Linked DNA regions of Homo sapiens: regions 1 and 2 are each linked to region 3. Evidence: promoter capture Hi-C in human tissues and cell types (Jung and others, 2019). All regions are on one chromosome and are shown on one strand. Each heading gives the region's core, a stretch centred on a gene start or on the middle of the fragment in contact. The rest is flanking DNA. Distances are from core to core; before and after follow the strand shown. Region 1 overlaps SF1 (splicing factor 1). Region 2 has its middle 5.4 kb from the start of SPDYC. Region 3 holds the start of ARL2 (ARF like GTPase 2).

Evidence for each region. The method cuts DNA at HindIII sites, captures the fragments that hold promoters and counts their contacts. A contact is called where the count stands out against the background at its distance.
Region 1: a fragment that was not itself captured here is called in contact with the fragment with the promoter of ARL2 in region 3 in 1 of the 25 tissues and cell types used here (liver).
Region 2: a contact is called between a fragment that was not itself captured here and the fragment with the promoter of ARL2 in region 3, in 1 of the 25 tissues and cell types used here (aorta).

Annotation. Positions count from the first base shown.
Region 1 is chr11:64,773,402-64,776,407 of GRCh38, reverse strand. SF1 (splicing factor 1) reads left to right here. Exons shown (of 13, transcript NM_004630.4): 3 at 2,903-2,978. Among named protein-coding and RNA genes, the nearest start is that of SF1, 3.6 kb to the left of the region's middle. The HindIII fragment of the contact is 3,858 bases long and covers 1-3,006 here.
Region 2 is chr11:65,174,061-65,177,260 of GRCh38, reverse strand. It overlaps the pseudogene PGAM1P8. Among named protein-coding and RNA genes, the nearest start is that of SPDYC, 5.4 kb to the right of the region's middle. The HindIII fragment of the contact is 8,198 bases long and covers 1-3,200 here.
Region 3 is chr11:65,012,567-65,015,790 of GRCh38, reverse strand. It overlaps ARL2 (ARF like GTPase 2), which reads right to left and starts at 1,631. Exons shown (of 5, transcript NM_001667.4): 1 at 1,519-1,631. The coding sequence starts at 1,583. ARL2-SNX15 (ARL2-SNX15 readthrough (NMD candidate)) reads right to left here and starts at 1,631. Exons shown (of 11, transcript NR_037650.2): 1 at 1,519-1,631. RefSeq lists a silencer at 1,025-1,784. The HindIII fragment of the contact is 13,144 bases long and covers 1-3,224 here.

The sequences.
Region 1 (3,006 bases), core at 11-2,510, 240 kb after region 3:
GTTATCTTTTTTGAGATGAGATACTTTCACGACTTTGGTATCATCTGTCAGTTTTTGCCCAGTGAGTTCTGCATTTGCAGCTCCTTGTTTTGGTCTGTTCGTAACTGCAGTGTTCTCCATGAGTATCAGGAAGGTAGGGTTTCACTTAGGAGTAAGAACAGTCCCCAGTCCAGCAGCCACCCTTTTCAGCTGCTGTTCATTGCCAGTTGATGAGGTGAGTGTCATCTGCCTCTCTGGACAGGCCCCAGTGGAGAACACCGCAGGTACTGTAAACCAAGTACTTTTCACAGCGTGGCCTTTCACCATAATTTTATATTTCTCCCCCTAAAATGTGGTCTTTTACTTTTTATAGGTACTTTCTGAAAAAAAAAAAATGACAAAAAGTGGTTCTGAAAGTGTGTTTACAATTTACCCCTTTTTATTTTCTTGAATTTAAGAGTTTAACCTTCCCTTCAACATCTTTTCTGGTTTGGTCTATGGAGAGCTGTCTTAAAATGAAGGCTCTTGTATTTACTTTTAAAGAACTCTGCTGGGAAAGGGATATTGCATGGATATGGAATGAAGTGCTAGGATAAAAAGGTTTTATTTGCTGGGAGGTTTTGAGAATTAATGACTATCCACAGTGGAATTGAAATTAACCTCAAAATTGCTTTTTTGGAAAAAAAAGTTTTTAATGCAAGTTTTATCTTTATATACCTGTGCAGCTGTCTCAAAAAAGTTCACTTTATAAACATTTCCTACTAACCAAATAAACATCCCCTTTGGAGGAAATTCGGGCAAAGACCTCCTAAACCTACGAGGCTGTGGCCTTCACAACCAAAAAGCTTCAAGGCCAGCATGTTACTACTTTTGAGGGTCTTAATTTCCTGTTTTTTAGACTGCTGAGAATTTTGAGGCGTTGGAATTGTCTGTCTCCTTTCACAGTACTACTAATACTTGTTCTTTCCCCTACTGTTCCTGTCTACTCCCACCCATTCCATTGTGTCTCATATTAGACTAGTCTGGGTCTTTACATCCTTGTGAAATGCCCCTAGTGGAGTGATATCCCAAGAACACAAGCATACTTAGAAGATGGGAAGAGCACAAATTCTTTATATCTCCATTTCTGTTTTTGTGGAGGGCTAGTTAGTTCACTGGGCCCTAAGGACTATTTATAGCTATAATCAAAATAGAATCAAAGGAGAGGTGTAGTTCTCCACAGAAGAGAATGACCCTTTTTATTTAGATCAGGCCCCACATCTCCATAGTCAGCTAGGAAGACTCACCTTCTCCCCTCAGTGAAGGTGACTTTCACCTCGAGTTGTTGAGCTTAATACTCAACTGCAAAGTCAGAACTTTTTAGGCATAAAGGAGCTTGGGGAACCATGTGTCTTACTACTTTTCTGTCTCCCACGGTACATACTGCTTTGTCCAGGATGCCCTCAATATCTTTTTTTTTTTTTTTTTGAGAGACTGAGTCTTGCTGTGTCGCCAGGCTGGAGTGTAGTGGTGCGATCTCGGCTCACTGCAACCTGCGTCTCCCGGGTTCAAGTGATTCTCCCACCTCAGCCTCCCAAGTAGCTGGGACTACAGGCGCACGCCACCATGCCCAGCTAATTTTTTTTGTAGTTTTAGTAGAGACGGGGTTTCACCATGTTGGCCAGGATGGTCTCGATCTCTTGTCCTCATGATCTGCCTGCCTTGGCCTCCCAAAGTACTGGGATTACAGGTGTGAGCCACTGTGCCCGGCCAGTATTTTCTTTCGATAATAATGGGTTTTCATTTCTTCAGGGTTTTAGTGTGTGGGTGTGGTATAGCCCTGTGGATGTATTTAAAGTTAGAAGGAATCTTTGGTTAGACACGCATTAATCCTATCTTGGAGCCAGCTCAGTTTTAACCCAACCTAGTAACATTTGCCCTTATTGGAGATGCCTGCTGAAAATTCTCAGATGCTGCGAAGGTAAGGAACAGGTGGTTATTCCGCATGTTGAAGAAAGCTGCTCTGGCTCTGCAGTTCCCATTATCTTGGAAAATCAGCTGTGTAACATTTCCCTGGCGTCACTGGCAACTTTTGTGAAACCCTCATCTCTCTTTTTCATGCACAGCCTCATTGGTCAAGGCCCGAGGGCCAAGTACATTGTCCTTGAACACACATTCCATTCTTCTACACGCCTGCTCCCCATATGAACAGTGAGCCTGAAAACAAATTCTTAGCACTTTATGGTTACTGGTTTATTAAGATATGTGGTTTGTCATTTAATATTTGAATAAATATTTCATATAATTGAATAAGAGCTGCAGGTATTGGGAGACCCTTACTAGTACAGGTCTGGTTGTACAGAAAGAGTATGTACAAATTTCTATAAGGTGTTGAATTTTGTTATTAAATGTCTTATTTAAGGAATTTTAAATGTATTAATGAAAATGATCTTTGCTCAATTGGTATTTTTCCTTGTCCCATGTTAATTGGGTCTCATTTTGGGCTATGTTTAACATTTAATGAAGAAAAAACTCAATTCTTGCCCTCAAGTAATTTGATGGGAGTCGGGTATTGGTGACGTAACATGGTTTATGGTTCTGGGTACCAATGGTAAGCAAGCCTTGGTGGGGAGGAAGAGGTGAAACACCTCCTAATAATTGCTTGGATGTTAGCCTTAGTGAACAGTCTTTATTGCTAACCCCTCTTCCAACAAACTGTTTGCTTCCTTAAGTGATAACCATTTTGAAGTGAAAAAAACCTATAGATGTAAAAGGACTCCTGCCGATAGGTGGTTGGGGGTTTTTGCTTCAATGTGTTCACTGATCAGTCGTCCCTTTCAAAGTCTCCGAGTTCTTCATGCTTGTTGTTGAGATTTGAGATGTTTATTGGTAACATTGTCTTTTTTCCATCCTTTTTTTTCTTTCCTAACCTGGTTTCTTCCAGTGCAACTGCAGATAGAAGACCTGACTCGTAAACTGCGCACAGGAGACCTGGGCATCCCCCCTAACCCTGAGGACAGGTTGGGAAACAGTTTTAACCAGCTGACA
Region 2 (3,200 bases), core at 609-3,108, 160 kb before region 3:
TGCCTGTAATCCCAGCACTTTGGGAGGCTGAGGCAGGTGGATCACGAGGTCAGGAGATCAAGACCATCCTGGCTAACACGGTGAAACCCCATCTCTACTAAAAATACAAAACGAATTAGCCGGGCGTGGTGGCGGGCGCCTGTAGTCCCAGCCACTTGGGAGGCTGAGGCAGGAGAATGGCGTGAACCCAGGAGGCAGAGCTTGCAGTGAGCCAAGATTGCGCCACTGCACTCCAGCCTCGGCGACAGAGTGAGACAACGTCTCAAAAAAAATAAATAAATAAAAATAAAAATTAAATGTTAACCTTCAATATTTAAACGTACAAAAATGAAAACGAAAATACAGCCAGAAGCTGGCTGGGCACGGTGGCTCATGCCTGTAATCCTAGCACTTTGGGAGGCTGAGGTGGGTGGATCACTTGAGGTCAGGTGTTCAAGACCAGCCTGGCCAACATCGTGAAACCCTATCTCTACTAAATATACAAAAATCAGCTGGGCATGGTGGCACACACCAGCAATCCCAGCTACTTGGGAGACTGAGGCACAAGAATTGCTTGAACCCGGGAGATGGAGGCGGAGGTTGCGGTGAGTGGAGATCGCACCATTGCACTCCAGCCTGGGCAACAAGAGCAAAACTCCATCTCAAAAAAAAAAAAAAAAAAATACAGCCAGGAGCTAAAGGAGAAACTTTTTGTATCATCTCAGTGTGGAAACAGTCTTTTTAACTATGACACAAAACCCAAAAGTCATAAAATTGCATTTTTTACTACATTAAAAATCCATACAGTTATGTCAAAATGATGGACTGAAGAAAACATTTACAATTAACATCTTAAAGGAGTATTTTTCTCCATATACATATATAAAAAATCATGTTCTGGGTGTGGTCGCTCATTCCTATAATCCTAACACTTTGGGAGGCCTAGACAGGAGGATTGATTGAGGCTAGGAGTTTGAGACTAGCCTGGGCAACATAATGAGACCCCATCTATAAAAAAATTAGAAAATTAGCCAGGTGTGGTGGTGCATGCCTGTCATCCCAGCTACTCCAGAGGCTGAGATGGGAGGGTGGCTTGAGCCCAGCAGTTGGAGGCTGCAGTGAGCTATGATTGTGCCACTTCCCTCCAGCCTGGGCAATAGAGCAAGATGCTGTCTCTAAGAATAAAATAAAAGTAAATCCCAGCACTTTGGGAGGCCAAAGTGGGTGGATCGCTTAAGCCCAGGAGTTCGAGATCAGCCTGGACAATACGGTGAGACCCTGTCTGTACCAAAAATACAAAAAGTTAGCTGGGCATGGTGGCCTGTAGTCCCAGCTATCCCAGAGGTCGAGGCTGCAGTGAGCTGTGATCGCACCACTGTATTCCAGCCTGGATGACAAAGCAAGACCCTGTCTCAAAAAAAAAAAGTTCACAAATAAAAGAAGACAAATAGGTCTTAAACATATGACAAGATGTTGAGCTCACTGAAAAGCAAATGTGAATTAAAATTTCACCAAGAGACTGTTTCCCACTTAGCAGTTTGGCAAAGATAAAAATCTGGCACCTCACGGCTGGGTGCGGTGGCTCACGCCTGTAATCCCAGCACTTTGGGAGGCCGAGGCAGGCAGATCACGAGGTCAGGAGGTCAAGATCAGCCTGACCAACATGATGAAACCCCGTTGCTACTAAAAATACAAAAAAAAAATTAGCCGGGCGTGGTGACGCACATCTGTAATCCCAGCTACTCAGGAGGCTGAGGCAGGAGAATCGCTTGAACCAGGGAGGCGGAGGTTGCTGCAAAGCATGGTGAGGCCCAGGTGAAGATCTGGAGGCACTCCTATGATGTCCCACCACCTCCAATGGAGCCCAACCATCCTTTCTATAGCAACATCAGTAAGGATCGCAGGTATGCAGACCTCACAGAAGATCTGCTACCCTCCTGTGAGAGTCTGAAGGACACTATTGCCAGAGCTCTGACCTTCTGGAATGAAGAAATAGTTCCCCAGATCAAGGAGGGGAAACGTGTACTGATTGCAGCCCATGGCAACAGCCTCCGGGGCATTGCCAAGCATCTGGAGGGTCTCTCTGAAGAGGCTATCATGGAGCTGAACCTGCCGACTGGTATTCCCATTGTCTATGAATGGGACAAGAACTTGAAGCCTATCAAGCCCATGCAGTTTCTGGGGGATGAAGAGATGGTACGCAAAGCCATGGAAGCTGTGGCTGCCCAGGGCAAGGCCAAGAAGTGAAGGCCAGCAGGGAGGATACTGTTCCCAGGAGCACCCTCCCTGCCTGTCTTGTCCCTCTGCCCCTCCCACCTGCACATGTCACACTGACCCCATCTGTAGACATCTTGAGTTGTAGCTGCAGATGGGGACCAGTGACTCCCATTTTCATTTTAGCCATTTTGTCTCCTGCACCCACTCCCTTCATACAATCTAGTCAGAATAGCACTTCTAGAGCACAGGTTCTCAGTCCAAGCTGTGGAAAAGCTCCCCTTATCCAACAGAGTTTAAAAGTAGTGACTTGGGTTTTTGCGAGTTGCTTTGTTTACTAAGGACTTGTGGGGAGGAACCATGCTAAGCCATGACCAATGAGGAGAAGCAACAGAGCCTGTCTGTCCCCAGGAGCCAGTCCTCTGCTCGTCTGCAGTCAGGCCACTGCCTGAGGGCTCTAGTCATTCCAGTGGAAGATGAATGTAACCTGCATGGTGATGTGACAACTGTTTCCTCCCTGACGCCAGAGGAGCTGGCTCTAGAAGGTTGGGATCAATCCTGAATTTAGTTATGTGTTACATTTAATTTAAGAAGTATAGTATATATAAATAATACAAAACAATAACCCTTCTGGGGTTTCTCGTGGCGGTTGAAATAGTCCCACATGTAGTCATCAGAAAATAAGCCATTCCTCATACCAATATAGGATCAGCTCCTTGACCTCTGAGGGGCAGGAGTGCTTCCTGGTGTGGGTATTACAATCCCTTCCTGCCTTGTTTCGTGACAGTGAAATGCCTCTTGGTCCTGTCCAAGTATGTCTTTCACTGATTTCTGAATCATGTTCTACTTGCTTGGCCCTGCCACATGGGTCCAGTGTTCATCTGAGCATAACTGTACTAAATCTTTTTCCAGATCAGTATAATAAAGGAGTGATGTGAAAAAAAAAAAAAAGAAAGAAAAAAAGAAATTAACCCTTTTGAGTCCTCATGTCTCTTGGGGGAGGGGGG
Region 3 (3,224 bases), core at 382-2,881:
TATAGTATGTATGGAGAATATATATATGTATAAATAGAGACAGAGTCTCACTATGTTGCCCAGGCTGGTCTCAAACACCTGGGCTCAAGCGAACCTCCCACCTCAGCCTCCCAAAGTGCTAGGGTTACAGGTGTGTGCCACCGCACCCAGCCTCTATTACATATTTTACTTACTTCCTGTGTTATCATCTTTCTACCCGCGGGCAACCCCCCCGCCACACACACACACACGCATTACAGAATTTCCATGAAGGTAAGATTTTTTAGTTTTATTACCCTGGGCACTAGGACAGTGTCTAGCACATATTAGGCACTCAATATTTATCAAATGAGTGAACTGTATGCTTTTCTTAGAGCTCTTTAAAGCAGACATGCGGCCCGGCGCAGTGGCTCACGCCCATAATCCCAACAGTTTGGGAGGCCAAGGCGGGTGGATCACTTGAGGTCAGGAATTCGAGAACAGCCTGACCAACAAGGTGAAACCCCGTCTCTACTAACAATATTTAAAAAAATAGCCGGGCGTGGTGGCGGGCACCTGTAATCCCAGCTACTTGGGAGGCTGAGGCAGGAGAATTGCTTGAACTCGGGGGGCGGAGGTTGCAGCGAGCTGAGATTGTGCCACTGCACTCCAGCCTGGGCAACAAGAGCGAAACTCCGTCTCAAACAAAACAAAATAAAACAGACATGGGCCGGACTCCGTGGCTCATGCCTATATTCCCAGAGTTTTGGGAGGCTGAGGCAGGAGGATCACTTAAGCCTAGAAGCTGGAGGCTGCGGTGAGCCTTGATTGTGCCACTGCACTCCAGCCAGGGCAACAGAGCAAGACCCTGTCTCAAAAAACAAAACAGTCATGATGTGATTATTAAGTTATATGTGCACGTAAGCGTCTTATCTCCCCAGCCATTCCCCCGCGGAGCCTGGCACAGAGCTGGGGGAACAGGTGCGGGCGCCTAACTGGACTCAGAAGGCGCACAGGGCGCACGGGACACTCGGGCCCACACACACACATCCTCAGCCGCAGGGACAACCACGGGCCGCGTAACACCAAAGAGACGGACTGTTGGATCCACGCTCGAAAGGATCCGCGGAGCCCACACGCGCCACCCGCCACCCCGCACGCCCCCGGGATTCGGAGCTCGAGGGCGGGGCCGGGGCCTGGAACCCTCGGGCCCGGGGGAGGAGATCAGAGCCGGGAGGGCAGCGGCCCCACGCTTGGGCCAGGCCGCCGGGTGGTGGCGTCCGAGTTATCTCCGGGACCCACCACCCCTGACACTCGGGCCGCCTAGCCCCGCCGCTGCGCCTGCAGGACCGCTTCTGCGGCCCTCGGAGCTGGCCCCTGCCCCAGTCCTGGGGTGCGGCTCCTCCCGGCCCGACGGGGCGATTGATGGGGCCCGCGTGGTGACGCCAGGGGCAGTTGGGACGCGCCGGCCGCCGCGTTCCGCTCCCGACAGGGGGCGCCCGGCACCGCCTGCCCGGCTGGACCCCGCCACCCTCGCGGTTCCGGCGTCCGGTAGGATACAGCATGAGCAGTCGCAGCTCCCGCTCTTTCTGCTTCATCTTCTTCAGAATGGTCAGGAGCCCCATGGTCCCCGGAGCCCCCTCCCGGCCGCCGTTTCTTCCCAGTCCCGGGACCCCGCTCCCGGTTCCTGTTGGCTATCACGCTCGCCGACGGCATAGTCGATTGGCCGGACGCTCGTTTGGTCCCGCCCTTGCCGCACGTGACCGCGAGGTCGCCCGCGCAGCTGCTGCGAGGGTCCCTCTAGCGGCGCGGGGGGTTTCTGTGCTGCCGCCCGCCCTGACGCTGCGCCTCCCGAGGGCTGAGGCTGGGGGAGCAAGGGCGACTCCCCCACCCTTTCCCCTGCCGGACTGGGGCTCTTGGCCGGAGCGGAAACCTTGAAGTTCCTGAGTTGCATCTTGGCTGCGTCTGACCTGAGAGTCAGAACCCAGGGCCCCCAGGTACGGACGAACTCATCCTGGGGCCAGTGTAGGCCCCCGTTCCCAGCAACACAGTCCAAATCCTGCTCATCTGGGCCCTCGGCATCATCCTCTGACAGAGCGGAAAGTTGGGCCTCCCCCTACCCGGCTCCGGTGGCTCTCAGTTCAGGGCGGCGGTGCCCCCTGGAGGCCGTTCGGAAACATGCGGGGCGTCCCTGGGTTCCAATGACGGAATTGCAGTCCCGCCCCAAAGGCTGCCCCCACCCAGAGGCCCAGCGTTTCCCTGTTCAGAAGCACAGTTCCTACTTTTGCAGATGGAAAAACTGAGGCCCAGATGGTGCTTAGCACAGTGGCTGGCATGTAGTAGGTGCTCAATAAATATTTGTTGTTGAATGAATGGCTTTGTCCAAGAGTTTCATTCTTTACTTTAGCGCTCAAGAAGTCCAGAAGAAGTGAGGAAATAGGTCAAGGACCAAGCCCTTTTGTAAACTCAGGAGACAGCCTTATTGCTGCAGGTAAGTGTGGATAGGCAGCACGGAAGAGCCTCTCTCATGCTTGGGAAAGAGCTGTCAGCACCAGCTGAGGACAATAGCTAACTCCTGTGTAACTGTTTGCAACGCACTTCACGTGTTCAGCTTCATCCTCCCTGCAACCCTGAGAGGTTTATATTCTTTTCGTAGCTATGATAATGGAATCCAGAGTGTTTAAGGAGCATGGGTGAGATTCAAACTCAGGTCTAGTAAATGGTAAAGCACAATGTCTTCATGCCTCCATGAAGTTTGCCTAGAGAGAGGTCTGGAAGAAGCTGGAGCTTCCCATCTTGCAGAAAGGGGCTTGTGGTCAGAGGAGGGCTGAACAGATAGGCTGCCTGAGTGGGACCCTTCGGTCAGCACCATTTACCCTCCATCACACACACACAAGGAAGAAAGTGAGCATATCGCCTACCCAGAGGCTTCGAAATGCAGCTAAGATCAAAATGGGAAATGCTGGCCGGGCGCCATGGCTCACGCCTGTAAACCCAGCACTTTGGGAGGCCGAGGCAGGTGGATCACGAGGTCAGGAGTTCAAGACCAGCCTGGCCAACATGGTGAAACCCCGTCTCTACTAAGAATACAAAAAATTAGCTGGGCGTGGTGGCGGCACCTGTAATCCCAGCTATTCGGGAGGCTGAGGCAGAGAATTGCTTGAACCCAGGAGACGGAGGTTGCAGTGAGCCGAGATTGTGCCACTGCACTCCAGACTGGGTGACAGAGTGAGACTCCGTCTCAAAAAAAAAAAAAAAAAAAAAAA